Regions from separate parts of the Homo sapiens genome. Here all the other regions are linked to region 1. Evidence: promoter capture Hi-C in human tissues and cell types (Jung and others, 2019). All regions are on one chromosome and are shown on one strand. The core of a region is centred on a gene start or on the middle of the fragment in contact, and the rest is flanking DNA. Distances in the headings are between cores, read along the strand shown.

Region 1 (2,876 bases), core at 185-2,684:
GCCCGAGTGTTAGGTATGCCTCACACTTCAGCGCCCCAAGCCCCAGTGAGAGGAGACGCTATCCCTGGAGGCCAAAAGCCACTGGCACTGACCACGCAGAGGGATGCAGGGGTGGAGGGGCTGTCTCCCTACTCCGCACCCCAAATCCTCAATCCGACTTTGGCCCGAGAGGCAAGAAACAGACTGGAAGAAAGTTAGGGGTGGGGTAGAGGGTGGAGGAAAGAAAGTTTAAGGAGGAAAGGCTTGGTGGGATAGCTCACCCCAACCCAACCGGAGCTTGGAAGGGGAGGATTTGGGAGACCAGAGAAGGCGAGAGAGGACGGGGTTATTAGAAGGGCACCCGGCGCAAACTCCCCCGAAAGCTTAAGTGGGTGGTGCCCCCGGGCACCCAGGGGCAAGGAGGGCGGGCGAGGAGCTCGGCGCACAGGGCAGCCCCGAAGCGGAGCCGTTTCTCTTACCTGCCGCCCGCTTGGGTGCCTGCTGTTTTCTCCTCGGCATCCTCTACTTCGCTCCAGTCCCACTTCTGGCGCCCCAGCCCCGAGCCGCGCGCTGGGGCCCGCTGTCTCTCTGGCCTCTCTGGGTCTCCTCCGCCTCTTGCCCGGTGGCTCCTAGGACGTCACTCGGCCTCTGTCCCCCTGACGATCCCCCCTGCAACTCCTCCACCACGGGCCAGAGACCCCCCTCTCTGGGTGGCAGACACGGGTGGCTTGTGCCGGCTGCTTTGAAGTAGAGGTTGGTTCTGCCTTGTTTGTTTGTTTGTTTATTTTGAATTTTTTTTCCTCTCTCTTTTTTGTTTTTGCTTTTGGAATTTTTTTGGTTTTGTTTTTGCGGTTTTTTTTTTTTTTGGTGACTGTTGAGACACTTGATTTCTTTATTAAACATCCAAGCCCGGGTTCGGATGGAAGGGACGAGGGGCGCACACGCGCCACAGGCACACTCGCGCGTAAAGATAAGGAAAAAAAAAAGGCAATCCTGGGAAGGTAGTGGGTTTCTTCTTTTTCTTCTTCTTCCTTCTCCTCTTTCCCTCCTCCTCCTCCTCCTCCACCTCCTCCTCCACCTCCTCCTTCTTTTCTTCCTCCTCCTCCTCCTCCTCCTCGCCGATCTCTATGGCGGATTCGTGCCGGGGGGAGAGCGATCACTCACTGTAGGTTTGTGGCTGCTGTCAGATCCCCGTCTGTGAGTGATATGCGAGAGGACAGGAGCGGGTTTTGGAAAGACAGAAAATCTGGAATTCACTCACTCACACACACACACAGACACACACACAGACACTCACACACGCACTCACACGCGCACGCACCCCCGCTTCCTCGCACACACACACTCACACCCCCCACATATGCACACACACACAAACACACACACACACCCTCGCACACACACACAAGACAGGGCGAGGCGATGCCAGCAAACATCGATCCCGCTGAACAAACTGAACATTAACAAACTCCTCCTCCTCCTCCTCTCCCCGCGACCTGATGACAGGGAGAAATTTACTCCCCAGCCGCAGAGCGCCAGGCAGCGGGAGCCTATTAAAGGGACAGCGTCCCGCAGGGGAGAGGGGCTGGGGGCGGGGGCCCCGGCGCGCCGGCCCAGGCCCCTCTGTGCGCCCTCTCCGCCGGGGCGAGGGCGTGCCCACCGGGCGCGGGGACACCCCTCCGGGAGGCGGAAGGGGCGGGGGCGGGAGGAAAGGAGGTGAGGAGGGAAGGGGTGCGGGAGAAAAGGAGGCAGTGTGATGATGGCTGAACTCTGAAGCTGGGAGGCTGTGGAGGGAGATTCAGGGGGGCCAGGTTGGCTGACCAGCAGGGACCATGCACAATCTTAGGAGAGGGAGAACTTAGGTTTGCTCGGGGCTGGGAAGGGGGAGGGGACCTTATCCAGTGAGGATCTCCATCCTGTAAGTCTTAACCTGCCCCCACCAAAATGTGCTCCCCACGACCCCTTCAATTTAGTGCCCCTGTCCCTCCCACTTTCTCGCTAATCAATGGGTGGTCACAAAAACAAAAATCTCCCTTCTGTCTACTTTAAGGTCTAATCATATACTCCTCTTTTTGTTTCCTTTGAAGAATGTTTATTGAGCATCTACTATGTGCCTATTCTGGAGACACAGAGGCCACAGAGAAAGGGAAGGTGGTGGCCATGTTGGTATTTATATTCTAATGGGGGAGTGCAGACAAGTGCCCCCCAGCTATCCAATCTTTGCTTAAATGTCCCCTTTTCCCAAAGGTCTACCTCACCTAAAATACACACACACACACACACACACACTCCCTGCCCCATTTCTCCATTTTGTTATTCCCCAGTGAGCTGATCAGTGAGTGTCACACAGGTTATAGACAGTTTTCTATTCTGTTGATTGTACAAGTTCCCCTCTTGAATGTAAGCTCCAATGGAAGGAAGGATTTTTGCCTCTTTGTTCTCTTATATCCCCAAGTGCTGGCAAAGCACAAGACATATAATAAGTGCCCAGTAAAATATTTGTTGAATGAATGAAAAGTAAGCAAGCAAATAAACAGGATACTTTGAGTGATTCGCTCCATGAAGACGTTAAGCTGAGTGCTGTAATAGTGTCTAAAAGGGGGTGGGTGGCTCTAGATTCAATGTAGGATATGGCATTTGAGCACAGAGAGATTGAAACAAACATGTGATTATTGAGTTCTGCTATCGGCCAGGCACCTTTTGAGGTGTTGGGGGCAAGTCTGTGAACAAGGTGAACCTAGACCATGCCCTCAAGGAGTGCTCCTTCCAGTGAGAGGGCAAAGCAACTGAGGGCATTTGATGCAGGCTGGGACTAGAGGTGTTTTTTTTTGCTTTATTATTTTTTTTATTTCAATAGCTTTAGGGGTAAAAGTGGTTTTCGGTTACATGGATGAATT
Region 2 (2,876 bases), core at 274-2,773, 470 kb after region 1:
CTGGTTATTAATCCCTCGTCAGATGGGTAGTTTGCAAATATTTTCTTCCATTCTGTGGGTTGCCTTTTCACTTTGTTGATGATTTCCTTTGCTGTGCAGAAGCTTTTTAACTTGATGTTATCCCATTTGTCTATTTTTGCTTTGGTTGTCTGTGCTTGTGGGGTATTACTCAAGAAATCTTTGCCCAGTCCAACATCCTGGAGAGTTTCCTCAATGTTTTCTTTAAGTAGTTTCATAGTTTGAGGTTTTAGATTTAAGTCTTTAATTCATTTTATTTGGTTTTTGTATATGGCAAGAGATAGGGGTATAGTTTCATTCTGCTGCATATGGATATCCAGTTTTCACAGCACCACTTATTGAAGAGACTGTCCTCACCCCAGTGTATATTCTTGGCACCTCTGTCAAAAATGAGTTCACTGAAGACGCATGGATTTATTTCTGGGTTTTCTATTCTGTTCTATTGGTCTATGTGTCTTTATGTCAGTACCATGCTGCTTTTGTTACTATAGCTCCATAGGATAACTGGAAGTCAGGTAATGTGATTACTTCAGTTTTGTTCTTTTTTTCTCAGGATATATTTGACTATTATGGGTCTTTTGTAGTTCTCAATAAATTTTAGGATTTTTTTTTCTATTTCTGTGAAGAAAGTCATTGGTATTTTGATAGAGATTGCATTTAATCTGTAGATTGCTTTGGGTAGTGTGGACATTTTAACAATATTGATTCTGCCAATCTATGAAAACATGAAGTATATTTCCATTTTTTTGTTATCCTCTTTCTTTCATCAATGTTTTATACTTTTTATTATTGAGATCTTTCACTTTTTTTGTTTTCTTCCTATGTATTTTATTTTATTTGTGGCTATTGTAAATGAGATTGCTTTCTCAATTTCTTTTTCACATTGCTTGCTGTTGGCATATAGAAATACTACTGATTTTGTATGTTGATTTTGTATCCTGCAACTTTACTGATTTGTTTATCCACTCTAATAGTTTTTTGGTGGCGTCTTTAGGTTTTTCCAAATATAAGATTATATCATCTGCAAGCAAGGATTATTTAACTTCTTATTTTCAAATTTGATGCCTTTTATTTCTTTCTCTTATCTGATTGCCCTAGCTAGGACTTCCAGTACTTTGCTGAATAATTATAATAAAATTGGGCATCCTTGTTGTGTTCCAGATCTTAGATGAAAAGCTTTCAGTTTTTCCCCATTCAGTATGATATTATTATGTTGAGGTACGTTCCTCGTATACCCAGTTTTTTGAGGGTTTTTATCATAAAGAGATGTTGGATTTTATCAAATGCTTTTTTAGCATCGATTGAAATGATCATGTGGTGTTTGCCCTTCATCCTGTTGATAGAGTGAATCAAATTAATTGAATTGTATATATTGAGCCATCCTTGCATCCCTGGATTAATCCCACTTGGTCATAACAAATGATTTTTTTTTTTTTGATGTGGTGTTGAATTCTGTTTGCTAGTATTTTATTGTGGGTTTTTGCATCAATCCTCATCAGGGATACTGGACTGTAGTTTTCTTTTTCTGATGTCTTTTGTTTTTGGCAGGAAGATAATACTGGCCTTGTAGAATGAGTTTGGAAGTATTCTCTCCTCCTCTATTTTTTGAAATCTTTGAGTAGAATTGGTATTAGTTCTTTAAAAGTTTAGTAAAATTCAACAGTGAAGCCATCAGGTCCTGGGCTTATCTTTGCTAAGAGACTTCTTATCATGCCTTCGATCTCATTACTTGTTATTGCTCTGTTCAGATTTTGAATTTCTTTACGTTTTAATCTTCATAGGTTGTATGTGTCTAAGAATCTATCCATTTCTTCTAGGTTTTCCAATTTATTGGCATATAGTTGCTCATAGGAGCCTCTAATAATACTTCGAATTTCTGTGTTATCAGTTGTAATTTCTCCTTTTTCACCTCTGATTTTATTTATTTCAGTCTCCTCTCTTTTTTCTTAGGCAAACAGTGTGTCAATTTTGTTTATCTTTTCAAAAAAAATCAACCACTGCTTTCACTGATCTTTTGTATTTTTTGGTTTCTTTAATTTCTGCTCCAATGTTTATTATTTATTTTCTTCTATTAATTTTAAGTTTGGTTAGCTCTAGCTTCTGTATTTCTTTGAGATGTATCATTAAGTTGTTTATTTGAAGTTTTCCTGCTTTTTAGATGTAGGCACTTATTGTTATAAACTTTCCCCTTAGTGCTGCTTTTGCTGTATCCTATAAATTTTGATGTGTTGTGTTTCTATTTTCATTTATTTCAAGAAATTTTTAAATTTCCTTCTTAATTTTTTCATTGTCCCACTGGTCATTCGGGAGCATATTATTTAATTTCCATGTTTTTGTATAGTTTCCAAAGTTCCTCTTGTTGTTGATTTCTAGTTTTATTCCATTGTGGTCAAACAAGACACTTGATAGGATTTCAATTTTTGAATGTTTTAAGACTTGTTTTGGGGCTTAATGTATAGTCGATCCTTGAGAATGATCCATGTGCTGAGGAGAAGAATTGTGTTCTGCAGGTGTTAAGGGAAATGTACTGTGAATATCTATTAAGTCCATTTGGTCTCTAGTGCAGATTAAGTCCAATGTTTCTTTGTTGATTTTCTGTCTGGATGATCTGTTCAATGCTGAAAGTGGGGTGTAAGTCTCTAGATATTATTGTGTTGGAGTCTAGCTCTCGCTTTAGCTCTAATAATAATATAATATTTGCTTCATGTATATCTGGGAGCTTTACTGTTGGGTGCATATATATTTATAATTGTTGTATCCTCCTGCTGAATTTACTCTTTTATGTAATGACCTTTTTTGTCTCTTTTTATAGGTTTTTCTCTTGAACTCTATCTTGTCCAATATAAGTATAGCTACTC
Region 3 (2,876 bases), core at 246-2,745, 440 kb after region 1:
GATTTTGCCTCTTGGGCTGTAAAGCCTAAAATATTAACTCTCTGGCCCTTTACTTTCTTTCATAGAGTAAGAAGTCCAGAGGCAGAGCAACTCTCTACAGTCGTTTAAGGGAATAGGTCTGTGATTCATCAACATCAAGATTCTTTCCACGTGTCCATTCTGCCATCATTAATGTACTAGCATCACCTGCAAGCTAGCTCTTTTCCTGGTGGGAAGATGAGCTACTGCAGCTACAGAATGCAGAAAAGTCCTCTCTGGTGTCTCCTTAAGGAGAAAACTTTTCCCAGAAATCCCTGGGCAGATCTTTCCTTACTTCTCATTGGCCAGAGCTGGATCATATGACCTCTCCTGAGCCAATCACTGGAAAGGAAAACAAGATTCTGATACCTGTCTTAGTAAGTTCTATTTACTTGAGGTGGGAATGGGGTCAGCTTTCCTTGAAGCACAAGATTGCATGGAGGATGGGTGGGTAACCTCATACATTGGGGTTCTGTTAGAAGAGGAAGGGGGAAAATGGACATTGGATAGGCAAGCTATAGGATGTTCATTTCTTTAAATGTGCATTAGAAACAAACCTTTTAAAAAAACTTAGCCTTAAGCAACAAGAGCTATGAAAACATGGGTTCGTGTGCTAATTTTAGTTTGTTTTCTAATACACATTTAAAGAAATGAACATGCATGTTTTCATAGCTCTTGTTGCTTTGGTTAAGGCTAAGTTTTAAGTCTACTGAAATACACCATTAAATATGAGTTACTATACTCTTAAATCACACAATAACTAAACTTTGAGCAGTTAGGCATGTTGACCATTGTTTATGTTATACTCTTTGCTCAGAAATTCCAATTTATTCTTCAAAGCCCAAATCAAATGTCCCTTCTCTGATCTCTCATTCTTTTTATGCCCAAAAAGGATTGGTTTCTTCCACAGCACTTTCTTTTTTATATACCTCTTCTAACAAGGGCCAGGTTGTGATATTTACATATCCACTCCTGATGGGGAACACCCTGTTTGTCATTCAGCCATTTATGAAACACTTGGTTGAGCAGCATTTATACGGCTTACGGAGAATACATCTACGTCATTTCTAGCCCTGACAACTAAGGCGTGATGCATAGGAGGTACTCGTGGTATGTTTGCCAGTAACTATCCATGCAAACTTAGCAAAGGGGAAAAACACATTTTGAACAACTGGCACTTTAGCAATTTCTTATTTAATTCAAAACAAAACCAGTCAATCTCATAAAATCTCTGAGGATTGCAGACAAAAATGTCCCTGGAATAGGACTGGATTAACACACAGATAATTGGAGGTAAGCCCTTTTGCCTCCAACCACCAGCTCATTACTAATTTACCCCACTTTAAGAGTATGAGTCAACTTCCTTCTTTTAAGAGAATCCAAGGAAAGCTAAAGACGTACTCCTCTCACTGTGTAAACATAATTTTATTTCTAATTAATTTCAATAAAATTTTAAAAATTAAAATTTGATGACTTTCCTATCTTATTTGGAACACTTCAATGACACCTCATTTCTTTCAGGATAAGGGCAGAAACGGGCCTTCACAGATCTAGTAATTTGACTCGAAACTTTTTTCTTTTTTTTTTTTTATTACACTTTAAGTTCTAGGGTACATGTGCACAACGTGCAGATTTGTTACATAGGTATGCATGTGCCATGTTGGTTTGCTGTACCCATCAACTTGTCATTTACATTAGGTATTTCTCCTAATGCTATCCCTCCCCCAACCCCCTACCCCCTGACAGGCCCCGGTGTGTGATGTTCCCCGCCCTTTGTCCGTTGTTCAACTCCCACCTACTAGTGAGAACATGTGGTGTTTGGTTTTCTGTCCTTGTGATAGTTTGCTTAGAATGATGGTTTCCAGCTTCATCCATGTCCCTGCAAAGGACATGAACTCATCTTTTTTATGGCTACATAGTATTCCATGGTGTATATGTGCCACATTTTCTTAGTCCAGTCTGTCATTGATGGACATTTGGGTTGGTTTCAAGCCTTTGCTATTGTGAATACTGCCGTAATAAACATACATGTGCATGTGTCTTTATAGTAGCATGATTTATAATCCTTTGGGTATATACCCAGTAATGGGATCTGTGACCTGAAACTTTCTTTGCATCTTGCTTCTCACTGTCCTCCCCACTCTCTCTTCTGCAGCCACACTGGTTGCTTGCTGTATTTCAAACATGAAGCTGCTCCTTCCCCAGGACCTTTGCACATGCTTTCCCTCTGCTCCAGATACTCTCCTATTAATCTCTAAGGTCTCAGGTTAAGTGTGACTTTCCCTGGGAAGGCTTCCTAGTCTCCCCAAGCTAGATGAGGCTCCCATATCACATATTCTTATGGCTCTATACTTTTTTCTTCAAGAGAGTAACCAAGTTTTAATGAAATTGATCCTTTGTGTAAGCATGTGTTTGATTTCTGCTTTCCTCATAAGAAAGTAAGTTCTGTGAGGTTAGGGAACTATGCGTTGTTAACTGCTGAATCTGCAGTGCCTAGGACAGGGCCTGGCACATAGTAGGTCTTCAATAAAGATTGGTTGAATAAACCAATAAATGAGCCTGTCCAAGAGCAGTAAGGTCACTGCCTGGACCCATCAGTATTCCCCCAGGACAACACAGAATTCCAAAGCCATTTTCTTTTGACAACAACAACTCATTTCTGCATTCACTCAACAAGTATTTATTGAGCACCTGCTGTGTGCCAGGATCTTAGTCAGTGGGGGTAGAACCATAAACTAAATGACCAAGTTTCTGGTCCCCTGGAGCTTACATCGTAGTGGGGAGACAGAAATGAACCTATAAGTAAATAAATGCCAAACAAAATATCCGGTAACAACACACACTATGGAGGAAGCACC
Region 4 (2,876 bases), core at 283-2,782, 370 kb before region 1:
GCAGTGAGCCGAGATTGTGCCACTGCACTCCAGCCTGGGTGACAGAGCGAGACTCCATCTCAAAAAAAAAAAAAAAAGAAAAAAGAAAGAAAAGTCACCTTGTTTTATCCTAGCATTCCTGCATTGGCTGCTCTTCCCCCCACCAGGCATTGGCATTTATTGCTTCTGGAAAGAGATGATCACACCAAAAATCAAAGAAAAGGAATTTGAGTTGAACAGATGCAATTTTTGCAAAAGCAAGATTCTTGAGACAACTCAGACAAAGGAAAAGGCATGAGTAAAGCACAGGTGTTCCCTGCTGGGCCTGAGCAGACACACATTGGGATTTGGGGGGCAGATGAGAGCTGCAGGTGGGCTGGGAAGTGAGATGCTGCCTGGTGTTCCAGAGGAAGGGGAGATGATACAAATCCTAAAAGTTTTGCGTGGATTTAGGAGTAGCAATAACCTGCATCCCTTCCTCCAGCAGTGCCCAGGAGAGCAGCGAGTCCCCCAGCTTTCCTGGGCTCCAGTGCAGGAGGGGAGGATTGGCAGCACAGTGGCTGAGAGGAGCATCTCAGCAGATGGGCCTGAAGGTCATTCCAGGGCCAGCTTCATGGGCATTTGACCTGTGCAACTGCATAGCGTCCTGTGCTTGGCTTCATGCACTTTGCCATCTTGAAATTCCTATTAATATTTGAACAGGGGATCCTGAATGCTCATTTTTTACTGGGCCCTGAAAATCATGTAGCTGGCTGTGGCCACCTTACAGAGCTCCCACGTGCCCCAGTGTGAGAAGGACGGAGCTGTCTCCCAAGTTTGAGGGCAGAATACGCCATGATGAGGCCTTTCAGGGTTCAAAGTGGCTCAGGAACAGCCAGTAATGCCCTGGCCCTTGACCACCAGAAAATACTATGAGAGCTTGAGGCTGGGGACAACTCAGGCCTCCGCAGCCACCTTGGCCAATGAACCCTCTTTCCCTGGCCTGAATGTGCCCACCACTCCCTGCATAGGGCCTGGTATTAGCTGTATCTCTTGGAAGAGGAAGGAGTCCTGAGTTGACTAAGATGAAGTATCTGCCACTAAGATTAGGGACTGGAAATATAAATTAAGTTCAGGTGAAGAAAATAAGAGAATGTTAGATTTCTTCTGCACCCAAGCTTGTGGACTGAGGTATTTAACTGTTACAGGTGTGACATGGCTAGTTTGGTGACAATGCTGAGCTTAATTCTTTGTCATTTGTTGTTATTTGCCAATGATTCAGAGAGAGAAAATTTGGAACCCACTTTCTTAAATGTATGCATTGGCCAACACGTCTGTGCTTTGCTAAGAAGGCTTCATCAGTGCTTCCCATCACTGCAATGCATGCCTGGCTCCTGCCTGAGGTTTACAGAACGCTGACGCAGTGCTGGCCTCATCTGACCCTCATGAAAACCTGTGAGGAAAGGCTCACAGGGACTCTGGAGCAGGACTTCTCGCCCTCAGTACTCCTGACATTTGGAGCTGAGTACTCCTGACATTTGGAGCTGAGTACTCCTGACATTTGGAGCTGAGTACTCCTGACATTTAGAGCTGAGTACTCTTAACATTTGGAGCTGGGTGCTCCTTTCTTGTAGGGGGTGGGCTGTCCCAGGCACTGTAGGACATTCCACAGCTTCCCTGGTGTCTATCTGCCAGATGCCAGTACCACCCCAGCCCTCCAAGTCATGATCAACCATGTCTCTAGGCATTGTCAACTGTCCCCTAGAAGGCAAAGTCACCTTGTCGATTTCAAGTTAGTGTGGGCAGTTACTACTTGTTTGACCTGGGACAAGTTATTTAATCATAAAGTGCCTGAATTACTCCTTTTGGAAGAGAGAATACTAATTGTGTTACTTTTTCTAGTAGGGAGGACCCAGGCAGTCATCATAGGAGACCCTCCTTGGAGAGGCGAATGGGCTTCACCGATGTTTCCATTGTTCTCACCATCCCACGTTAGATAGAGAGCATGATGGTTTGGCAGGGTTAAATCCTCCTCCAACCCAGCCCATCACTCTTTTTATACTAAAACCCTTCAATTTTATGTGGAAAGAATTATGAAGACATTCTCTCTGCTCAGATAAATTATGAGGTGGAATAGTAACAATAACCTCATGGCTGGTGAATGCCTGCGACAGGCCAGCACCTTGCAAAGAGTTTGCAGGACCACGTTTGACTTCATGGACACACTATGGTGTGTCCCTGCTCTGCAGGTGAGGAGATGGAGGGTCAGAGAGGTTTTCTAACTTCCTCATGAACACGTCTCATGCTGCCTGGCCAGGGACATGGACAACATAGCTTTGAGCCTGTGCTTTAGCCAGGGGAAGCACTGAAGAACCATATTCCAATCAGTGATTCATGACTAAGCAACTCACATGACAGTTTCCCAATGTCTGCTCTAGCGTACAATTAGTACCAAGGCACTTTCTAAATATTTTTCTTTAACAGGGTTTCCATTTTAGCTTAAACACTTTAAAAGGCATTTTATAGCCCTACTCTACATCAAAAAGCAGTTTCAGCTGCCACGCATGGAAGGGAAATGAGTTTTTCACGTTGGGAGTCAATGTTATTTAATTATCTTTGGTAATGATTAACAAGAATCGAATCTGAGCCACACGTGGTTGTTCAGCCTCTTGTACTCATTAGATGTTCAGTAACTAGGTCATGGAAGATCCTATGGATTGGCTCACTCAGCATCCACTCACAGCTGACATCCCTGGGTATATCCCTCCTAGAGTGGCTGAGGAACAACATACTCCAGCTCCAGCCTCTGTGGTAACCAGGGGTGGTCATGTGACAGTTCCGTCCAATGAAACATACAGAGAATGGGTCCTTCTCTAATGAAAAAGGCAAAACCTTGTTAGAAGGGACTTTTTAAAAAA
Region 5 (2,876 bases), core at 104-2,603, 350 kb after region 1:
TGTTATATTTTAATAAGCAGCTTGACACTTGCCTCACTCCCTCTGCGTCGGTTACATATGGTATTGCAGAAATTCTGAGAGAAGGTGGGAATTCTACAACTCAGAGGAATTGGGGATGGGGGAGGCAATGGCATTCTTTTTTTTTTAAATTATACTTTAAGTTCTGGGATACATGTGCAGAACACGCAGGTTGTTACATAGGTATACATGTGCCATGGTGGTTTGCTGCACCCATCAACTCATCATCTACATTACGTATTTCTCCTAATGCTATACTCCCCAAGCCCCCCACCGCCCCCGCAACAGGCCCTGGTGTGTGATGTTCCCCTCCTGTGTCCATGTGTTCTCATTGTTCAGCTCCCACTTATGAGTGAGAATGTGCAGTGTTTGGTTTTCTGTTCATGTGTTAGTTTGCTGAGAATGATGGTTTCTGGCTTCATCCATGTCCTTGCAAAGGACATGAACTCATCCTTTTTTATGGCTGCATAGTATTCCATGGTGTATATGTGCCACATTTTCTTTATCCAGTCTATCATTGATGGACATTTGGTTTGGTTCCAAGTCTTTGCTGTTGTGAATAGTGCTGCAATAAACATATATATGCATGTGTCTTTATAGTAGAATGCAAATCAATAAATGTAATCCAAACAGAACCAATGACAGAAACCACATGATCATCTCAATAGATGCAGAAAAGGCCTTCAATAAAATTCAACACCCCTTCATGCTAAAAATGCTCAATAAACTAGGTATTGATAGAACATATCTCAAAATAATGAGAGTTATTTATGACAAACCCATAGCCAATATCATACTGAATGGGCAAAAGCTGGAAGCATTCCCTGTGAAAACCAGTACAAGACAAGGATGCCCTCTCTCACCACTCCAATTCAACATAGTATTGGAAGTTCTGGCCAGAGCAATCAGGCAAGAGAAAGAAATAAAGGGTATTCAAATACGAAGAGAGGAAGTCAAATTGTCTCTGCAGATGACAATGGTGTTCTTACTGCCTCTAGCCTACAGCCTATTGAGGTTTCTTGCAATTTACACATGCCTAGTAATGTGGATTCATAGACAGCATTATCACCTCTTAACTATAGCAGCCCTCACAAAAAGGACTAGTGGCTTAAAGATTCCTACAAAGTAATGTGAATTGAAGGAAATTTTAACAATGCAAGCATCTGCATGCAAGGAGAAAATGGCTCTAACTTCTTCCACCATTAACAGGAGCTTTTTATCAGTTATATTGTGATGTAAAAAAAAAATGATGATGAGCAACTCGGAGTTGTCAAAACAAACAAACAAAAAAGGAAGTTATCCAGCAGATTATGTAACATATAGATTTACATTTAAAACCATGATCTGATATTTTCTGTACTAGAATATAGGCTCCAGAACAGCAGGGATCTTGTGTTTTTTCATGCTTTTTACTCATATTCTTAGCTTGGCACATAGCAGGCATTCCATAAATATCTATTAATAAATAACTTAATCGGTAATGATGAGGTTTACATTTTTCAGAGATAGCCTCAGTCATCTCTCCCATTCCATAGGCTGGCTTACAATGTGATCTTGCTATTCCCTCATCAAGAAGTATAGTCTAGGCCTGGTGCGGTGGCTCATGCCTGTAATCCCAGCACTTTGGGAGGCTGAGGTGGGCAGATCATGAGGTCCGGAGATCGAGACCATCCTGGCCAACATGGTGAAACTCCGTCTGTATTAAAAATACAAAAATTAGCTGGGCGTGGTGGCAGGTGCCTGTAGTCCCAGGTACTTGAGAGGCTGAGGCAGGAGAATTTCTTGAACCTGGGAGTCAGAGGTTGCAGTGAGCCGAGATCGCACCACTGCACTCCAGCCTGGCGACAGAGTGAGACTCCGTCTTAAAAAAAAAAAAAAAAAAAAGTATAGTCTAATTCCCAGCCCTTGAGCCAAGGCAGGCTTATGACAGCTTTGATGGATACATTATGACAGAGGGAATGCTACGTGACTTCCAAGGCTGTCAGGAAAAGCCATACAGCTTCCCTCTCTGGTTTCTCCTGAGATGCTTATTCTGGAGGGAGCAAGAGCTGCTATTCAAGAAGTCCAGCTACACTGAGACCATCGTGGTGAAAGGGTCACATGAATGCTCTGACCAACAGCCCCAGTTAAGGTCCCAAAGCTGCCAGCCATGGCAATGGCACAACTTGGACATCCTTCAAATGACTACAGCCTCAGCTTCACCCAATATCAGACTGTACTACACGAGGACCTCCAGGTGAGAACCAGTCAGCTGAGCCCTTTCCTAATTCCTGACCCAGAAATCATGAGCAAAACAAACTTGTGAGTTTAAATCACTAAATTTGGGGATCATTTGTTACATGTTACTAGATAATTAAACAATAAACCTCCTCCCAAATACATGTTATGGCTCAATATTTTTTATTTTTTATTTATTTTATTTTATTATTATTATTATTTTGAGACAGAGTCTCACTCTGTTGTCAGGCTGGAGTGCAGTGGCGCGATCTCAGGTCACTGTAACCTCCACCTCCCAGGTTCAAGTGATTCTCCTGCCTCAGCATCCGAGTAGCTGGGATTACAGGCGCATGCCACCATGCCCAGATAATTTTTGTATTTTTAGTACAGACGGGGTTTCACCACGTTGCTAGGATGGTCTTGATCTCTTGACCTCGTGATCCACCCACCTCAGCCTCCCAAAGTGCTGGGATTACAGGTGTGAGCCATCACGCCTGGCCTACTTTTTATTTTTTTGAGATGGAGTTTTGCTCTGTCTCCCAGGCTGGAGTGCAATGGCTCGATCTTGGCTCACTGCAACCTCCTCCTCCCAGGTTCAAGCAATTCTCATGCCTCAGCTTCCAAGCAGCTGGGATTACAGG
Region 6 (2,876 bases), core at 159-2,658, 320 kb after region 1:
ACCATGCAAAAGTAATTTAAGTCATTAGAGTGACTATGTATTTGAGCATGAGCATGAGCAGCGATCATCAAAAGCATTTGTCATAGAGAAGCAAGCAGATTCACAAAGCACTGCTTAGTAAATTATCCACAGGCACATGAAAAAGCTTTGTTACAAAGAATGCTTAAACATCTGGAATTTTACTTCCACGACCAACTGAAAAAGCGAATTATTCAGGCTTCCAACACTAAAATGATGCTTCTCTGATCACATAGATTAGCTACAAAGCCAAATTTGGAGAAGACTGAATTTTTAAAGAGTATCTTGGAAGAAGAAAGAAAGGAGACAAACAAGGACGCTTTAATGCCAAAATTAGGGCTACTGTCCTCACACAGAACACCCCAAAATCTCAAGGATCAGTTTGCAGACTTGACCAGCTCCAAGAAGCCACATGGATAAAATAGGGTTGGGAGGATTTGGAAAATAAAGCTTGGAATCCACCAGCTTGTGACAGAAGGAAGAAGGATGTATTTACTTGGATAAAGAGAGTTCAAAACAAAACTCCGAAAAAATTACAAATAAAATCGCCCAAGGAAAATGAAAAATAATAAGACAAACAATCCCGTGTGAACACACTGCCTATTCTCCTTTAACGGTCTTTTTGCTAATTCCTCAGTTCACCATGTTGCAAGACAACATTTTAAAAATGACCATGGAAACAGCCTGTTCGAAGGGCTGGCAGCAGAGCACAGTGGGCAAGGATGCCCTGTTTACAACGCAGGTGCACACACACACACACACACACACACACAAACTTAAGTTGATTTTTCAATAACTTGATTTCTACTTCCATTTTCTCTGCCCTGGGAGATATTTGGCTGTTGATTTAGAGATGCGATCAGCTCTGAAATACTACTTTTCTCCTTATTTTTATGAGAAGGAAGATTAAACAACAAGAAAAGAAATTTCCATCTGCCTTCTATAACACTTCCCTAGGAAAAACTGATTGCCTTATAATAGGCAGCAGTGGTTCTCAATTGGTGCTATTTGTGCCCCAGTGGGCATTTGGCAATGTCTGGAGACATTTTTGGTTGTCAGAACAGGAGGTGGGGAGGCAGGTACTATTGGCTTCTAGTGGTAGAGGGTATGCTGCCAAGCATCCTACAATGCACAGGACAGCCCCTATGACAAAGAATTATTCAGCACAGAATGGCAATAATAATAAAGGTTGAGAAAGCCTGACCCATAGCCTAGTGGATAAGAACAGGGCTCTGGAAGTAGATAGCCTGTATTCAAATCCTGGCTTCACTACAGACTAGCTGAACACTTTAATGTTTCCATACCTCCACTTCCTTATCTCTAAAAGAGACAGCAAATGCACCCACTTTAGAGGGTTCTTGTGGGCATCAAATAAGTTAGTCAAGGTAAATGCTTAGAGTACAGCCTGACAAATAATATGCATATCACAAACGATGCACATATTCTTAAATATATCTTCGTAGACTACTAACTTCACAGGCTCAAAATTGCTTACCTGTTTAGCTTCCTCAACTCCCTCACTGAAGTGTGAGCATCCTAAGGACAACACTGGATCTTAATTGTTTGCTTCACCTCAGCACCAAGCACAGAGGTTAAGGAGACTTAGAAGAAATGAGATGCCAAAGATCCAATCCACTGTTGGTAGCCATTGTCATTGGCCATCGCCCACATCCACTCAGCCCTGGGCACTCTGGGCCCCATGGCTTCATGTTCTCTATGACCGAAGGCTTTCTCTGACCTGAAGTGCCAGGGAATCAATACCGCCAGTAAGCAGCCCTCAATCAGTAACAGATGGAATTGGTGGATTAATATCCCAGTTCCCCCGGCCCTCACGAGCATCACTGTGAGGTACATGTTCCCCACTGTCTCAGGCTTCCCTAGCAGGTGTAAGCTCCAATTGCCCAGAACAGTGCCTTGCTTGATAACATGCCCTTTCCTGATTGCCTTCCCATCCTTGTCTCATTTTCCCCCTCTTCCGCCACTGTTTTGTGGATTTACCTCCCATGTAAGCGACTGTACTCTGACCCTGGTCTTCGAGGTGGCACCTGGAGGAACTACAACTAACACAGCACTCTAGGAGTAGGATGGGCCAATTTCTCCAGGAAGATGATCTCCCTGACTAAATATTCCTGCACATTTGTGGGAGATAAGAAATCACAGTACTTGGACTCAGGCTCCACTCCTGTCCATTTCTCATCTCTTGGGAAGCAAGTCCCTTTCCACAAGATGGCAGGTGCTGAAATGGGAAGTAGAAGGGAAAAAAAATCCATTTTCAGAGTGATGAACTAAATAATTTGCCTCCAGGTCTGAGATGGGTATTAAATGAAACTTGAAGTAATCTTCCCAGCAGAGCTTGGGGGCACCTGTGACTTTTAAATGGAGCTACTCTGTTTCTAGGGAAATACATACTTCTAAAAATTACGCTTGAGGATAAAAGCTTCCAACAATAAATCTCCCGGAGGCGCACTCCTCTAGGGACAAATATACTGGGAAATCTTCAAAGAGGGTGCTCGGTTTATCACTTCGTGTCTCTTTCCCACTGCAGAAGGAAATCCCTCTGTTTCCACTGAGAAATCAAGTCCACTGGGACCTCTTCGAAGGATCGAGAGTTCTTCAGCTCCTCCCATCCCCACCCCTTAAAGACCACAGATCATTTCATTCTGAAAATAATCCTTTGGGGGTTGAAAGCAGACAGCATATTAACAATCGATGCTGTTCCTCTTGACCTGAAGAAAAAAAAGAAAATCAAGCATACAAATAACAAAAAGTACTCATTCCTGCTGTGAAATAAAAATATAATCTCACATCTGTTCCTTTATCTTTCACGGAAAACCGGGTGATACTATTACTAAGAATTT
Region 7 (2,876 bases), core at 99-2,598, 260 kb before region 1:
AATTCTCATGAGATCTGATGGTTTTATAAGGGGCTTTTCCCCACTTCATACTGTACTTCTCTCTCCTGCTGCCATGTGAAGAAGGACATGTTTGCTTCTCCTTTGCCTTCCGTCATGATTGTAAGTTTCCTGAGGCTTCTCAAGTAATGCAGAACTGTGAGTCAATTAAACCTCTTTCCTTTATAAATAACCCAGTCTCAGGCAGTTCTTTAGAGCAGCGTGAGAATGAACTAATACAGTCACATGCCCAGAAACTGATTGAATCTAGCTTTGAAGTGAGTTCATTAGACCCCAGACCCAGTGCCCTCTCACAGCTGTGTACTAGCTTACTTGTGGCATGTCAGTTTTCCATGATGCCCTGCCATTACCAATGTGTATAGTGGAGGCACGTGTGTTTCTGCTATAATGCAATGTGTGTTCCTAGACAAATCTTGCATTTTGCACAGCTTTGCAGTTAAAATTATAGCACTTATGGGAAAAATAAGGTTAGGATAGACCACTTAGAAAGTAAGCAACTTAGCATCCAGAGAGTAAGCAAACAATAACAAACATAATAAACCTACTGGTTGGGTTAGATACACTTGTTCAATTCATAATAAGTAAAGGAATGCCAGAGCAAATAAAAGACTTAACCTTTGTAAATAAAGAAGTGATGGTAGTTAGATAGAAAGGAGTTTAAAGAGGTAGTGAGATTGTGAAGTTACAGGCAGGTCAAATTTTTAAAAATCAGGGAGAGGTGACAGTCAGGCTTCTGAGGCAGATTTACATGGTTAACCTGAGCTAAGAGGATTGACTTTTATGAATTGACTGCTTTCTTTGCTGGATTCAGCTGTGTTGGTGAACTTTGCATTTGGCTGCTGTTACTCAGTGGTGCTAAACAATAACGTGTTGGAAAAAATTACATGTGCATCAATGTGACGTTCTCATTATATTCATATCATTAACCTATTTACCAATCAGGAGTGAACTAATCTGCTTCACAGGAAGATGAGCTACAATGGAACAGACTTTATTTTATCTTTCATTCTTAAAGACCTTTCATGTTCAACTAACTCAATTGCTAAAATCCTGGGCACCTCACCAATAAAATCTTAACTTTGAATTAATTACTCAGGCAAACCAACTTAAAATAAAGATTGTAAATCTAAATAGCTTCCAGGCGACAGAATTTGCATCTCATAAAATCTCTCTCATTATTGGGGATATATAAAGAGAGAGCTTCCCTTTTATTTCTTCAAGTACCTACTGTGTGCCTGGTACAGTATGCAATATACATTTTATTTTGGAAATAATCCTGTGAGGTAGATATTTTTACATTTATGTGAGGGATTTCGGGCTAGCAGAAGAGATGAAAGTGGCTTTCTGGTACACACTGGCAGAAGCAGGATATGAACTCAAGTCCTGGCCAGGGGTGGTGGCTCGCACCTGTAATCCCAGCACTTTGGGAGGCTGAGGTGGGTGGATCACATGAGGTCAGGAGTTTGAGACCAGCATGGCCAACATGGTGAAACCCCGTCTCTACTAAAAATACAAAAAAATTGGCTGGGTATGGTGGTCCACGCCTGTAATCCCAGCTACTTGGGAGGCTGAGGTGGGAGGATCACTTGAACCCAAGAGGCAGAGGTTGCAGTGAGCCAAGATCATGACACTGTACTCCAGCCTGGGTGACAGAGTGAGACTTTGGCTCAAAAACAAACAAACAAACAAACACGCCCTCCCCCATTCCCCCCCCCCCGCCCCGCCCAACAAAACCAAGCTCAGAGACCCAAGACCCAAGCATCTTCCACCTCAACTTTCTGCAATGAGACATTAAGTGACGAGGTGCGCTCCTAGGGGACTGAAAGTGAACAATGGTCTCAACTGGGCACCTCTCATGCCACCTTGACTCCTCCATGAATTGATCCCATCCTTGTGGCTTACTGTCAATGCTTAACACTCCTAGCAGTCAGAATGAAAGATACATCAGATCCTGTCACTTCCCTGCTCAAAACCTCCCAAGGGACATTCTTCCCACTCAAAGAAAAAGTCAATGTTCTCACCATGGCCCTCAGATTTCTATGTATGTTAGCTCTCCACTTGGTCTCCAACGCTTTCTTCTATTTCCCTCTTCCTGGATTTTCTGCTCCAGCCATACTGACCTCTTTGCTATTTCCCATAAGCCAGGAACATTCCCATCTTAGGCCTTTGCGCTGGCTGCTGTCTCTGCACTTTTCCTAACTTCCTTCAAATCTTTGCCTAAATATCATTTCCTGATGGCACTTTACTCCAGTCACCCTATTTAACGTTGCAACCAGTCTCCCCATTCTTTCAGAACTCCCAATTCCCTTCTTCTGTTCTATTTTTCTTTTGCCTTCATACTTACCAACTTGTAGCTTACTACAGAATTTACTTCTTTATTATTTCTATTGTTAATTGTGATCTTTCTTTGTTAGTTTGTAAGCTTTGTAAGAACCGGTATCTTTGTCTCTTTGGCTTGATGCTGTATGGAGGCACCTGTGCATGGTGCTTGGTAAGTTCTCAAAAAAGTATTTGTTGAATGACTCAATGAAAATTTCATGAATCTTTGACATTTTCAACTCCCAAAGGAGAGCAAAACTTACCCACTCACCAGAATTTTTCTGGGTTGGCTGTGGGTTTGCACCTACCTTCTATTTTCCAATAAAACATAGGTCCCAGGGACTAGTCTTGCTTCCCAGACTTCCAACATTTGCTCAGTATGATAGCCTTTCTCAAAACCCATCTGGTTCTATATCTAGAAGTCAATTTAAGGGTAGAAATACAGAAATACTTGCAGTAAAGGCAGAGATGCTTCTTAATCAGAAAAATACTTACTGGGCCCATGCTTTCAGCCGGGTTGTGTCCACAACCATGCAGGG

Evidence for each region. The method cuts DNA at HindIII sites, captures the fragments that hold promoters and counts their contacts. A contact is called where the count stands out against the background at its distance.
Region 2: a fragment that was not itself captured here is called in contact with the fragment with the promoter of TSHZ2 in region 1 in 1 of the 25 tissues and cell types used here (dorsolateral prefrontal cortex).
Region 3: a fragment that was not itself captured here is called in contact with the fragment with the promoter of TSHZ2 in region 1 in 4 of the 25 tissues and cell types used here (IMR-90 fibroblasts, dorsolateral prefrontal cortex, lymphoblastoid cells and 1 more).
Region 4: a contact is called between a fragment that was not itself captured here and the fragment with the promoter of TSHZ2 in region 1, in 2 of the 25 tissues and cell types used here (dorsolateral prefrontal cortex and spleen).
Region 5: a contact is called between a fragment that was not itself captured here and the fragment with the promoter of TSHZ2 in region 1, in 3 of the 25 tissues and cell types used here (lymphoblastoid cells, mesenchymal stem cells and spleen).
Region 6: a fragment that was not itself captured here is called in contact with the fragment with the promoter of TSHZ2 in region 1 in 2 of the 25 tissues and cell types used here (mesenchymal stem cells and spleen).
Region 7: a fragment that was not itself captured here is called in contact with the fragment with the promoter of TSHZ2 in region 1 in 2 of the 25 tissues and cell types used here (dorsolateral prefrontal cortex and lymphoblastoid cells).

The regions. Positions count from the first base shown.
Region 1 is chr20:52,970,916-52,973,791 of GRCh38, reverse strand. It overlaps TSHZ2 (teashirt zinc finger homeobox 2), which reads right to left and starts at 1,434. Exons shown (of 3, transcript NM_173485.6): 1 at 459-1,434. The coding sequence starts at 498. The HindIII fragment of the contact is 6,451 bases long and covers 1-2,876 here.
Region 2 is chr20:52,505,970-52,508,845 of GRCh38, reverse strand. All of the region lies in intron 4 of LOC105372666 (a long non-coding RNA gene), which reads right to left. Among named protein-coding and RNA genes, the nearest start is that of LINC01524, 110 kb to the left of the region's middle. The HindIII fragment of the contact is 3,410 bases long and covers 1-2,876 here.
Region 3 is chr20:52,531,072-52,533,947 of GRCh38, reverse strand. The region is part of intron 5 of LOC105372666 (a long non-coding RNA gene); the gene reads right to left. Among named protein-coding and RNA genes, the nearest start is that of LINC01524, 88 kb to the left of the region's middle. The HindIII fragment of the contact is 9,491 bases long and covers 1-2,876 here.
Region 4 is chr20:53,337,386-53,340,261 of GRCh38, reverse strand. All of the region lies in intron 2 of TSHZ2 (teashirt zinc finger homeobox 2), which reads right to left. Among named protein-coding and RNA genes, the nearest start is that of TSHZ2-AS1, 170 kb to the left of the region's middle. The HindIII fragment of the contact is 5,349 bases long and covers 1-2,876 here.
Region 5 is chr20:52,625,512-52,628,387 of GRCh38, reverse strand. The region is part of intron 2 of LINC01524 (long intergenic non-protein coding RNA 1524); the gene reads right to left. The region is part of intron 7 of LOC105372666 (a long non-coding RNA gene); the gene reads right to left. Among named protein-coding and RNA genes, the nearest start is that of LINC01524, 6.1 kb to the right of the region's middle. The HindIII fragment of the contact is 3,873 bases long and covers 1-2,876 here.
Region 6 is chr20:52,646,358-52,649,233 of GRCh38, reverse strand. LINC01524 (long intergenic non-protein coding RNA 1524) reads right to left here. Exons shown (of 3, transcript NR_110038.1): 3 at 1-2,744. All of the region lies in intron 7 of LOC105372666 (a long non-coding RNA gene), which reads right to left. Among named protein-coding and RNA genes, the nearest start is that of LINC01524, 27 kb to the right of the region's middle. The HindIII fragment of the contact is 3,037 bases long and covers 1-2,876 here.
Region 7 is chr20:53,233,997-53,236,872 of GRCh38, reverse strand. The region is part of intron 1 of TSHZ2 (teashirt zinc finger homeobox 2); the gene reads right to left. Among named protein-coding and RNA genes, the nearest start is that of TSHZ2, 260 kb to the right of the region's middle. The HindIII fragment of the contact is 5,488 bases long and covers 1-2,876 here.